Linked DNA regions of Homo sapiens: region 1 is linked to region 2. The links are contacts of gene promoters, found by promoter capture Hi-C in human tissues and cell types (Jung and others, 2019). All regions are on one chromosome and are shown on one strand. The core of a region is centred on a gene start or on the middle of the fragment in contact, and the rest is flanking DNA. Distances in the headings are between cores, read along the strand shown.

Region 1 (6,149 bases), core at 1,163-3,662, 1.4 Mb before region 2:
ATCTCTACTAAAAGTACAAAAATTAGCCAGGCATGGTGGCACATGCCTGTAATCCCAGCTACTCAGAAGACTGAGGCATGAGAATCGCTTGAACAAGGGAGGCGACAGTTGCAGTGAGCTGAGATTCCGCCACTGCACTCCAGCCTGAGTGACAGAAACTTCATCTCAAAAAAAAAAAAGGAGGGTGGGGGGGTAAGGACAGAGTTGCCAGTACAGTTCCTTCCTCCTTCCTTGAATGCAACCATGTAGCTGTAACTGTAAAACATTATCCTGTAGCTACAGGGTCTCAAACATGACAGAAAAGACAAAACTACCTTAAAATACCACCAACTCCAATATTACTGAACTGCTGATCCAAAGCTAGACGCTGCATACCTCCAAATTCCTTTCTTTTTTTTTTTTTTCTTTTTTTTTTTTTGAGATGGAGTCTCACTCTGTTGCCCCAGGCTGGAGTGCAGTGGCGCCATCTCGATTCACTGCAAGCTCCGCCTCCCGGGTTCACGCCATTCTCTGGCCTCAGCCTCCCGAGTAGCTGGGACTACAGGTACCCGCCACCGTGCCCGGCTAATTTTTTTCGTATTTTTAGTAGAGACGAGGTTTCACCGTGGTCTCGATCTCCTGACCTCGTGATCCACCCGCCTTGGCCTCCCAAAGTGCTGGGATTACAGGTGTGAGCCACCGCACCCTACCCCAAATTTCTTTTTGGAGAAAAACAAACCCCCTATTTGTTTAGGGCACTGTGTTAGGTCTTTGTGACGTTCAGCCAAAGCACTACTGACATAGGGGCCATATCAACTCAAAGCAATAAGAAAAATGGGAATGTGCTCCATTTTGTTTTACATATTAGTTCTTAATTTTGCCCACATATAAAAGAAGCATGAATTGTAAATCACTGTATAATCAGAAGACAAATTAAAACATTTCTTAGACACATTTAAAAAATCTTTTAAAAAAATCCTTGCCGGCAGGAAGTCCGTAAAAAATTTTTTTAACATCAATATGGTTCCAGAATAGTTTTGCCCTTGTATCTACCAGGCAGAGAACCAACCTGAAATCTGAGAGGCCTACTTACGTACCTCCCACATGAGAAGAATCAGGTTTACAAGTTTAAAACAGCAACAACTTTACACTATGTTTCAAATCTTCCTGAACAGAACTTGATCCCTTCTGTAAAACAAAAGAAGTGTGCCCTTACATGCATTCTATTCCTTAAATCACAAGCCACTTACTTAACACATAGGTATGGTTTCCAAATGTTAAAAAACAAAAACAAAAACAAACTACAAAGCCAAGTTGTGACAATAAATGGCTGTCCTCCAAGTATTTTGTACTTTAGAAATATTCACAAAGTCACGTTTCACTTTTGAAAGCAGCTAGGCAATTATTTCATTCAACATAGAAAAAGGATTTGATAAGATTGAACAATTTATAATTTAAAAACTCTTGGCCAGGCATGGTGACTCATGCTTGTAATCCCAGCACCTTCAGAGGCTGAGGCAAGAGGCTTGCTTAAACCCGGAAGTTTGAGACCCGCCTGGGCAAACATAGCAAGACCCTGTCTCTACCAAAAAGCCCCCACAAAATTCCTATAGCAAACTAGGATTAGAATGGGATGTCTGTCCTTGATTTGATAAAAATCACCAACCCCCGCAAAAAACAAGAATGCACCCAAAGCCAAGGAATGTATAAAGAGATTCTAAAAATCAGAGAGAAATACAAGTTAAAACCACAATGTAGTATCACCTTAGGCCTGTTAGATAGGGAAAAGGCAGAAAGCTCTGAAATGTTGGCAGAGAAACGGGAATACAAAAACTGTGGTGCACTATTGATGGAAGCAGCCATCTAGAAGAACAATCTGACATTTCCTGTGACCCATCAAGTCCATTCCAAGCTATATATCCCAAAGAAACTCTTACATTGCTCCATAAGGGGACATGCATGAAGATGTTGAAGCATTTTTTTTGTGGTGACAGAGTTGGAGAAAATTAACATGTGCACCTCTGGCGAGCAGACTGGTAAAATGTGGTAGATGCATACATCTCACTGCTATTCAGCAGTTAGATGCAATATATTAAGCGCACAGATAAGACATATGTAATATTTACATAAAGTACCAAACATACCAAAATAAACTATGTAAGAACACATACACATACTAAACACATTAAAACAGTAACGTGGGGTGGAGGGTAAGAGTAATGACATATGGAGACTAACAGGAGTAGATAAAACAAGAAGATAGTCTCACATGGATCAAAGATAATGTGACTCTTCACAGCTGAATTTATGAGAAAGCATCTAAGAATATGAATAGGAAGGGGGAACTGTTATTGTCCCATAAATATAGTAAAATCTGTTTCACTTTTGAATAAAATAATTGTTACTGGTATAGTAGGTGAACTAATGTAATACGGTGAAAAATAATTTACTTGTCTAATCCTTAGAATAAAAAACTTGTAAGGCACAAGTTGTGGCTAAAAAAATCTTGATTCAGGCCAGGTGCGGTAGCTCACGCCTGTAATCCCAGCACTTTAGGAGGCTGAGGCAGGAGGATCACAAGGTCAGGAGTTCGAGACCAGCCTGGCCAATATGGTGAAACCCCATCTCTACTAAAAATAAAAAAATTAGCCAGGCATGGTGGCGGGTGCCTGTAGTCCCAGCTACTCAGAAGGCTGAGGCAGGAGAATCGTTTGAACCTGGGAGGCGGAGGTTGCGGTGAGCCGAGATCGCACCACTGCACTCCAGTCTGGGTGACAGAGTGAGACTTCATCTCAAAAAAAAAAAAAAAAAATGTTTATTCAGTAACTTTCGGCTAGTCAACTATATGGTAGGCATTAGCAGGGAATAAAAGAAACAGAAAAGTGTGGTGTCAAACCTTCAAGGCACTCATGATATACACGGGGTGCTAACGGGGGAATAGCAACTGAAACAAGGGGCAATTCCTGCCCCAAGAGAAAATCAGAGTGAATACTCTAATGCTGTCCAATAGGTGTATAATGTGACATACATATGTAATTTTCAATTTTCTAGTAGCTCCATTAAAAAATGTAAAAAGAAACATATTTAATACGTTAAATTAAATACCATTTTATTTAACTCAATATACCCCCCAATATTTCAATGCATAATATAAAAAGGCTTTATATCCTATTTTTGAAATACTGTCTTTGAACTGGTTTATCTTTTATACTTACAGAACACCTAAATTCAAACTAACCACGTTTCAAGTGCTTGGTAGCCCCACATGTGGCTAGTTGCTACTGTGCTGGATAATGCAGCTCTAGGCACCCAAAGGACATGATCACATTTGGGTGAGATGAAGGAAAAAAGGTACCCCAAGATGTGAAGGGATGGAGTCCTCAAAGGGCAAGTAGGAGAGTTCTTATGAGAGATGAAGGACATCTCAGGCCAGGCACCACCCAAGAAGAGGTAACAAAGCTTGGGTGAAAAGGGGAAACGCTACTCTACTACAACAACCCACCATTAGCCAAATTTACCGCCAATTTTTCAAGAAGCCTATCAATCTTAGTTTGTTATTTATAATAACAAGTACTAGCTAAATTTTAAAGACATGTATTGACATATGTAAACACCTAATCCAAGTCTGGTTATAAATCATGGCTGCATTTACTTCCCCTCCCTCTCCAAACTCCATTAATATGAAAGTAAAGGAAAAAAATATAAGGCATAAGGAAAAAAGCCACAAGACAAAGAAAATAAAAGTGGTAACAGATATACTTTCAGAAACTAAAAAAAGAAGGAAAATGACTTAACACATATAAGAAAGATTAATCCTAAGCCAGCTATGGAGATATTGGAAAATCCTGATTTGTATTATAGAACTCTCAAAAGGTTCAGGAACTGGTAGTACAAGTACCTCTAGAAGTGTGAGTGAAGTAAGCCTGAAACAAGAAGATCTATCAGTCTGTTAAATAACAGACCCCCGGGTCTCCTCTCCCACTCAGGCAAAAAACTGGAGGTTCTTTAGAAAGGGCAAAATGGAAAGTCTCTGGGCTTGGGGACACAGGGCACAACTGAGGGCAGGGACACTGAAAACAAGCAGAGAAAGCAGAAAGCCACAGATCTTTCCTTCTGCCCTCTCCCGACTCAGCTCCCTGGAACATGGGCATTCCGTGCTTGCCTAGGCCAAGTGATAAGACTAAATATATTGGTATCAAGAGCACCACAAAGAAATAACAGTGTGTCCCACTGTTGTATTCAAGATCCATCCAAATGCACAAAACTTCCAATCAGCCTTAAACAAACAGAAAAATAAGCAAGACTCAAAATAGCATTCTCTCTCTCCAAATCGGAGTGTCAGATGCTATATAAGACAGAAAACAAAATTCTGAGGAAAAAGGGCATTCAGTCTAGAATTCTATATGCAGCCAAAATATCAATCAAGTATGAGAACAGAATAAAGATGTTTGCAGATATGAAAGGATTTTAAAAATTTACCTCTGAGCAACTTTCTCAGAAAATCACTGGAGGAACTGCTGCAATGAAACCTGGGAGTGAACCAAGGGGAAGAAAATGGATCGAACAGGAAAGGCAAAGGGAATCCCTAGGATATGGGTGAAGGGAGATCTCAGGATGACAACTATGCAGCAGAACAGACAGACAGAACACAAGGCCAGCCTGACAGAGATGAAAGTGACTGAATGCCTGATGAATCTGGCCACAGAGGAAATTGAGAAAGTGAAGTCATAAAAATCTAAGTAAACAAACAAAAAAACCAAGACACAACTTGAATGATGTTATTCTCTTTTGATTTAAAAAAAAAAAAACCATGAGGCACAGCCGAGTGAATTTGTCCACAGTTAAATCTCAAGACTAGTTTCAAATTCCAGTCTATAACTCTAAATTCTAATTTCTCCTTTTATATGTTGTTCCTTCTTTTTTGCTCCATCTTATGAGGTCCATTCTACCTCTTCAGAATCTTTATCTCGATCAGTCTTAGACTCTCATTTTTGTCTTCCACTTTCAAGCCCAGACTCTTTCCATCACACATCCCTTCAGGAAAGTAGTGTAAGATTGTGGCCAGGCGCTGTGGCTCATGCCTATAATCCTAGCACTTTGGGAGGCCGAGGCAGGTGGATCACTTGAGGTCAGGAGTTCAAGACCAGCCTGGCCATGGTGAAACCCCGTTTCTACTAAAAATACAAAAATTAGCCAGGCGTGGTGGCGGGTGCCTGTAATCCCAGCTACTCGGGAGGCTGAGGCAGGACAATCACTTGAACCCAGGAGGCAGAGGTTGCAGTGAGCCAAGATCATGCCACTGCACTCCAGCCTGGGCAACAGAGCAAGACTCCATCACAAAAAAAGAAAAAAGACTAGAGTTATGTAAAATTCTATGAACAAAACCTGTGAATTCAACTTCTCTGATTTTATATTAAATTCTACCAATACAGATTTTTGTGTCAAATGTCCATACACAAACCCCACAATATTTAGGTCCAACAAAAAGCAAATGCCTGTCAACAAGAAATACAGAAAAAACACCTGCTTTGTTTGAGCTTCAACACTGAACTTCAAGGTCCCACATAACCCACAGAAACAATGTCTTATCTAGTGCACACAGAAGTACACAAGACCAACCATAGTTGAGCAGCTTGAGTGGCTAGAGTGTAGTGCTAGCGAACTCTCGGCTGAAGACAAAATTGGATGCCCCTCCCACCTCCAAAAAAAGGCCTTTTCTTTCAAAGCCAACTTCTGCCCTTCCAATTGTTCTGTACAAGCAGGTGCAGACGGGTGAGTACAAATTCCTTATTACTTTTGCAGACCAACTCCAAGCACAACCTTTAACTTCTTGTGTGAGACAGGACATTAAAGCTTCCCAGGTAAGAGATTTATTTTCTCCTTCATGTTTAATTTGAAATTTGAAAATGGATATGAGACAAATGAATTTTCTGCTTTAGTCCTCCCAGTGGTGATCAGAGGGTACTGCATTCCCTGACTCCTTTTTCTTTTTTAACCAAAGCCACAAGTCACGGAATATTCCCTGACTCTTACTAGGAATTTGTTCCAGCCCAGGAAAAAATTCCAGGCATAAAATTTGGCTATATCTTAGAATAATAAAATGCAGGCCGAGCGCAGTGGCTCAAGCCTGTAATCCCAGCACTTTGGGAGGCCAAGGCAGGCGGATAACC
Region 2 (5,457 bases), core at 1,678-4,177:
ACAAATAAAAAATATATATAGTTTCACATAAAAATGTTTCTATATTCAATTACAAGTGTTTGGATACTTCCACAAAAAAAGTGGAAGGAATAAAATAAATAAAAGTAATTTCTACTGTTCATTAAATTACATGACTTCATTGTTGGTGATCTTTATTCAGTTTAAATAATTCAGCTCTGTTGTCTACATTAATGCATGCCTATCTTTTCACTGTAATTAACTACTGGATGCACATATTTGATTAAATGTACAAATGCCAAAGCTAACTCATAAAAGCCACCAAGAAGAAAGCCCTCCTACCAAAAGTCCTGGGTCTCTACTTATATCTAAGGTGTCCTAGTGTAGCCAGGCTGCTAATAAGACAAACAGACCATCTATCATAAAACTGGATTAATTTAAAAATCTTTCCTTAGGTTTTTGTAAGTGAAAAATAAATTATAGACAGGTTGAATTGGTAGAAATACTTCAAGGATTGTTATAAATACAGAAATGAGGTAGGATTTCAATTTTAGATAGTCTCATTCCTTAGTCAACTTTCAAAAGTGCAAGTCATTATGGAGCCAAGATTTGGATACCTGCATATTTGTTTTGCTGAAAGAAAAAAAGGTACTCATAAGACAACAGAGAGAATTTGTAGTAGATATTGTACTACATAAACATAGTCCCCCCACCCCAATAATTTTAGCAACGTCCAATTTTAAGATGCCTGGAAAAAGCGAATTACTGGTGATCACTCTAGAAGCAAAGTATAAAACTTAAATTTTTTTTCATAAAAAGAGTGACACAAGGTAAAAAAAATAAAATCACTGATTCTAATACATAAACTATGCAATAAAAATATCAAGGATTAGCAATGGTCAAGCTACTCAAAATACAATTAACTTTAAAAATGCAGATTAAAATGTATTTTAATAAAATGACGAATATGCATTGAAAAATGACCACAAAGACATAAACCAAAAATGCTGACAGTGATTATATCTGGGTCAAACAATTCCCAGTGATTTTTACTTTAGCTGTATAGTACATTTTCTACAATGACTATATGTTTTTTGGAAAAAAAAAAGAGTAGATAAATTTTTTTTTTTTAACTTTTGTGGCTTCCACTTAGGAATACATAATCCCAAACATCACAGTAAACAACCCTCAAAAACATTAATACTCTAAATATGCTCAAATGGTTTATTTGCCTTGAACATTCCACGTGGATATAAGAAAAAAATATTCTTTTACACCCTGCTAATCTCTGGCAGGAAACCAAGGCTACAGGGAAGCATCTTCTGAGTAAGAATAGCCTTTGAAAGAAACAAACCATCAGAAACACAGTGTGTGTTAAGGATGGGGCAGACAGTACAGGGTCTCTCACTGAGAGAACCATACAGTTTTTTGAAATTTTAAGAAGCTTGTTGGCAAATATTTTTAGACAATCTCCAATCCCTAGAGGCTAACCTTGGACATCATCCTTAGGTTCTTAGATGGACACGCCACACCCAAAGTGGTTGTAATGGGCTACAAAGTGGTTGTAATGAATCCATGAGAAAGCCTGCCTGCAGGCAAGCCCCAGACTTAGATGAATGTAACCTTGCTGGTGGGCGATCATTATTTGAGGAGACAGCTGGAACACGCTAACTCTAGCCTCTTCCCCCTACTAGGTGCCTAACCTGAATCTTTTTTTTTTTTTTTAATCTGTAAAATTAGACTCAAATATTACAGGGTTATCATTAACATCATCGAAGCATTAAACAAATATGAGGTATGATCAGTGAAAACAAGCAGTGGATGGGGAGCTGAGACACTGAGTCTAGTCTCAGGACTAAGATTAGCTGGTGACCTTGGGTGAAATCACTTAACCTGAGCCTCAGTTTCCTCAGGTGTAAAATCAGGATACACCCGTTCAGCAAGGATGCTGTGAGAGCATCCACCTACAACAGTGATGCTCGCAGGCCCGGGGCTGGCACCGTCGCTCTGTGGGCCTCGGCCTCTGGGTCCCCACAAGGCAGGGCTGGGACACCCGCCCGACCTCCTCCCGAACCAGAACCCCGGCTGCCCCCAGCTCCGCGGGTCTGCCCCCGACACATCCCTCCCGAAGGCCACTTGGCTTGGACACAAATCGAAACCGAAAAGCTCATGTGACACTGGAGGCAGGGATGCGGCCTCGCCCGCTCTCAGCCCAGGGAGACGCTGTCTCCACCCAACTCGGCCATCTTGAGAGGCCCGAGCAGACAAAGCGACCCCATTGTTTTGGGTGACGGCAGACGGGGACCCCTTTCCCCTCCCCGCGACCAGGAGCGGGGCGCCCTGGGGGCTCCGGGCCGGGCAGTGGGTGTGGCGAGGGCGAGCCCCGGGCGCCGCGCCGGCCTCTGCGGGGCGTCTGCGGCCCTGGGGACCCGGCCGGCGGGACGTCTGCGGCCGCCGGGCTCTGCCCATCCAGGGGTCATCTGCAGCTGCCGGGCTCCTCCCATCCCGGGGACATCTGCGACCCCGGAGGACCTGGCAGGCCCTGCATTCCGCGAGGCCTGGCTCTGGCGACCCTGCCCTCCGCGGCCCCGCACCTTTGAGCGTGGAGCGCTCCACCAGCACCGTGTGGACCTGCGGGTCCGAAAGGAACTTGCGCATCTGCTCCAGGGCGCTCTTCTCCTCCAGCGCCGCCTCCAGCGCGGCCGGCGCCTCGCCGCCGTCCTCCAGCAGCAGCGGCACCAGCTTGCGCAGGTGCTTCTGCAGCACCGACACGTCCGCCACATTCTGCACGGCCGACACTTCCAATCCGGCCGAGCCGTCCTCGCCGCCGCCGCCCCCGGGCTCCGACATGGTGTCGCGCTCGGGACCTTCCAGGAGCGATGAGAAGGCGGCCGCGACTCAGCGAGACAGCCAGCAAGAGACAGAAACGGCCGCCGGAAGCCGGACCGTCCGCTAGCCCACCGCAGACTGAGGAGAGCGGGAGCCGGCTCCGCCCTAAAGGCAGCCACTGCCAGGTGGCCCCGCCCCGCCCCGCCGGCCGCAGCCGCCGCAGCCACCCGCGCTCGCTCGCGGCCTTAGCGTCACGGCGCCGCGCGTGCGCGGGGGGCGGGCCCGGCGATGTCGCCGCGCGCCCTTCTGGGACTTGTAGTCTCGGCGCTGGTCGGGGCCCGCAGCCTCCGCACTGCGAGTCCTAGGAGATGGGGACTTGGCTCAACGTCCTGGCTCGGCGCCCGGGCTTGGCGAGGTTGGTCAGGGGCTGCGTCTGTCTTCTTCACTGCTGTGGACGCAGCGAATAGCACACAGCCAGAGAAACTTTATAGTGAATCAGTGATGTTATTGGCGAGAGCTAACGTTTAGTGAGCGCTTAGCCTGTGCCCGGCGTTGTTCTAAGCCCCTTAACCTCTCATTAAATGTTCTCTCATTGAATGAATGAATGACTACGTATCAGGTACCAAAATATAGGCACGACAGATGTGTTATTAGATATAGACCGGGAGATTGAGGATACTTTTCAGAGGGGGAGGAGATGAGGGGCGTGCTCAGAGAGTCCCATTGCCAGGCTGGAAACGGACAGCTGGGGAGGGGGCCTTCGGGGCAGTGTAAGGTTAAGCCAGGAATGACACCTTCACTGTACGTAAAGCCAAGCTGTGATGGGATCTGGTTCCTAATGACAAAAATCATTGTCCCCGAGGACGCTGTGAGGACCAAGAGGGAGACCTACTGAGAACAGCTACCTCCAGCAATGGCTCTCCTCCAGCCCCCTAGAGCTGGCACTGTCATTCTGTGGGCCTCAGTATCTGGGTCCGTACAAGGCAGGGGCTGGGTTGCCTGCCCACCAAGTTTCCCCCTAGTTCGGACCCACCACGACCTCCTCCCCTACACCATGACTACATAAGAGCCAGAATCCAGGCTGCCCAGCTGGGTGCGGTGGCTCACACCTGTAATCCTAGCATTTTGAGAGGCTGAGATGGGAGGATTGCTTGAGGCCAGAAGTTCCAAGACCAGCCTGGTCAACCTAGCGAGACCCTATATCTATGTGTATTTAAAAATTAAGAATTTTGTAAAATAATAAAAATAATAGAATCCAGGCTGCCCATCTTTGTAGTTTAGAGATGGTAGGTTCTTCTAAGGGGTAGTAATTGGCCTTTGAAAGTTCACATTCATAACTTCTTTCTTAAGTTGGGTGGAGAGAGGGAAGCCAATGGCGTTTTTTTTTTTTTTGGTTTTTTTGTTTTTTTTAAACATCAAAGTGCACTGTCAGAGTGCCGAGTCCTGATTGGTGGAATGATGATGGTATGATTTGATTCTCCCAAATCATCTTTGAAAAACTGTGAAACATACAATAAGCTTATTCCTTGCCTAATTACCGGTTGCTGGGTCCCAGGGGGTTGCTGGAACACGGAGACTAATCAGATGATTCTTGTCTTTAAGGAGCATGTGGAAGAGGGGACAGATGAATACCCCATCTTCCTGCTCTCCATCAGTCCGCCCTGGTGTGATGTGCCTAAGCAGTTCCGAGTAATCTTCCTGGAAAAAATAAATAGGCAACTGCGATGAGTTTGTGCAAGGATCCTAATGGTAATGAATAATAATAACACACCACTGACAGCGAACGCTGAGTGTTCACTGCGTGCTAGGCACCATGCAGAGGGTTTCCCCTCACATGTACTTTAGGGGTAGAAAGAGGGACAAAGAGGAAAGTCTATTAGGTGCAGATCTGTGAACTCTGAATAGGCCATCCACCATCTGAGACTCAGAAACCTGCAGGGACCTGGCCGATGGGCAGGCTGCATGCTGGCTGCACCATGAGTCAGCACCAGACTGGGAGACGCAGCCACTCAGGGATCCAAGGGACTCAAACATCTGCAACCTGGCCCCAGGCCAAGAGAACAAACTGCAGGCTCCGGATTTGCGGCCCTGTAGGATAGGCTCAAAATGAAACATGTTTGTTATTTCTAAGTGGATGGGAACTGAAAGAACCCGAACAATCAGTGTACAAGGATTCATGAATGGACCAAACATGCTTGCTTTTTGTTCTTGAAAGATGTTTGTTGTATTTAATATATAACGAGAAGAGTGGTCAACGCTGACTGGGTGCTGAGCACTTTAAGTGCATTACCTGGGTGGCTGGCTGGGCTGTGCCAGGGTTGAAGGGTGTGGGGAGCTTCTTTCAAGGTGCCCCTTCTGCCTCCTGGCACAGGACTCTGGCTCCAGCACACCCCAAGCTGACCCTGGTGGGGGTAGGGCCCCTCACCCAAACCTGGCCTCTCCCGTCTCTTGTTCTGCTGCCTCAGCTTTCTCCTGTCTGTGGTAGAGTCTGCTTGGACAGACTCTGGGCAGGGCAGGGGGCAGGGCAAGCTGGAGAGAGAATTCGTTCTAGGTTGATGTGGGATGATAGTGGCTGGTAGGGCGCTTGTATCCTATTGGAAATCCATGATGAGATCCCATTCATTCCCACCCTTCTCTTAACAATGTCTCCTTAAGTCCAAGTCTCAAGTC

What was found. The method cuts DNA at HindIII sites, captures the fragments that hold promoters and counts their contacts. A contact is called where the count stands out against the background at its distance.
Region 1: a fragment that was not itself captured here is called in contact with the fragment with the promoter of DYNC1H1 in region 2 in 1 of the 25 tissues and cell types used here (lymphoblastoid cells).

What each region holds. Positions count from the first base shown.
Region 1 is chr14:103,393,969-103,400,117 of GRCh38, reverse strand. The region is part of intron 1 of MARK3 (microtubule affinity regulating kinase 3); the gene reads right to left. Among named protein-coding and RNA genes, the nearest start is that of MARK3, 12 kb to the right of the region's middle. RefSeq lists an enhancer at 1-368. The HindIII fragment of the contact is 4,447 bases long and covers 189-4,635 here.
Region 2 is chr14:101,962,043-101,967,499 of GRCh38, reverse strand. It overlaps DYNC1H1 (dynein cytoplasmic 1 heavy chain 1), which reads right to left and starts at 2,927. Exons shown (of 78, transcript NM_001376.5): 1 at 2,553-2,927. The coding sequence starts at 2,808. RefSeq lists silencers at 2,235-2,444, 2,935-3,094 and enhancers at 1,970-2,579, 2,580-3,190, 3,235-3,374. The HindIII fragment of the contact is 2,222 bases long and covers 2,855-5,076 here.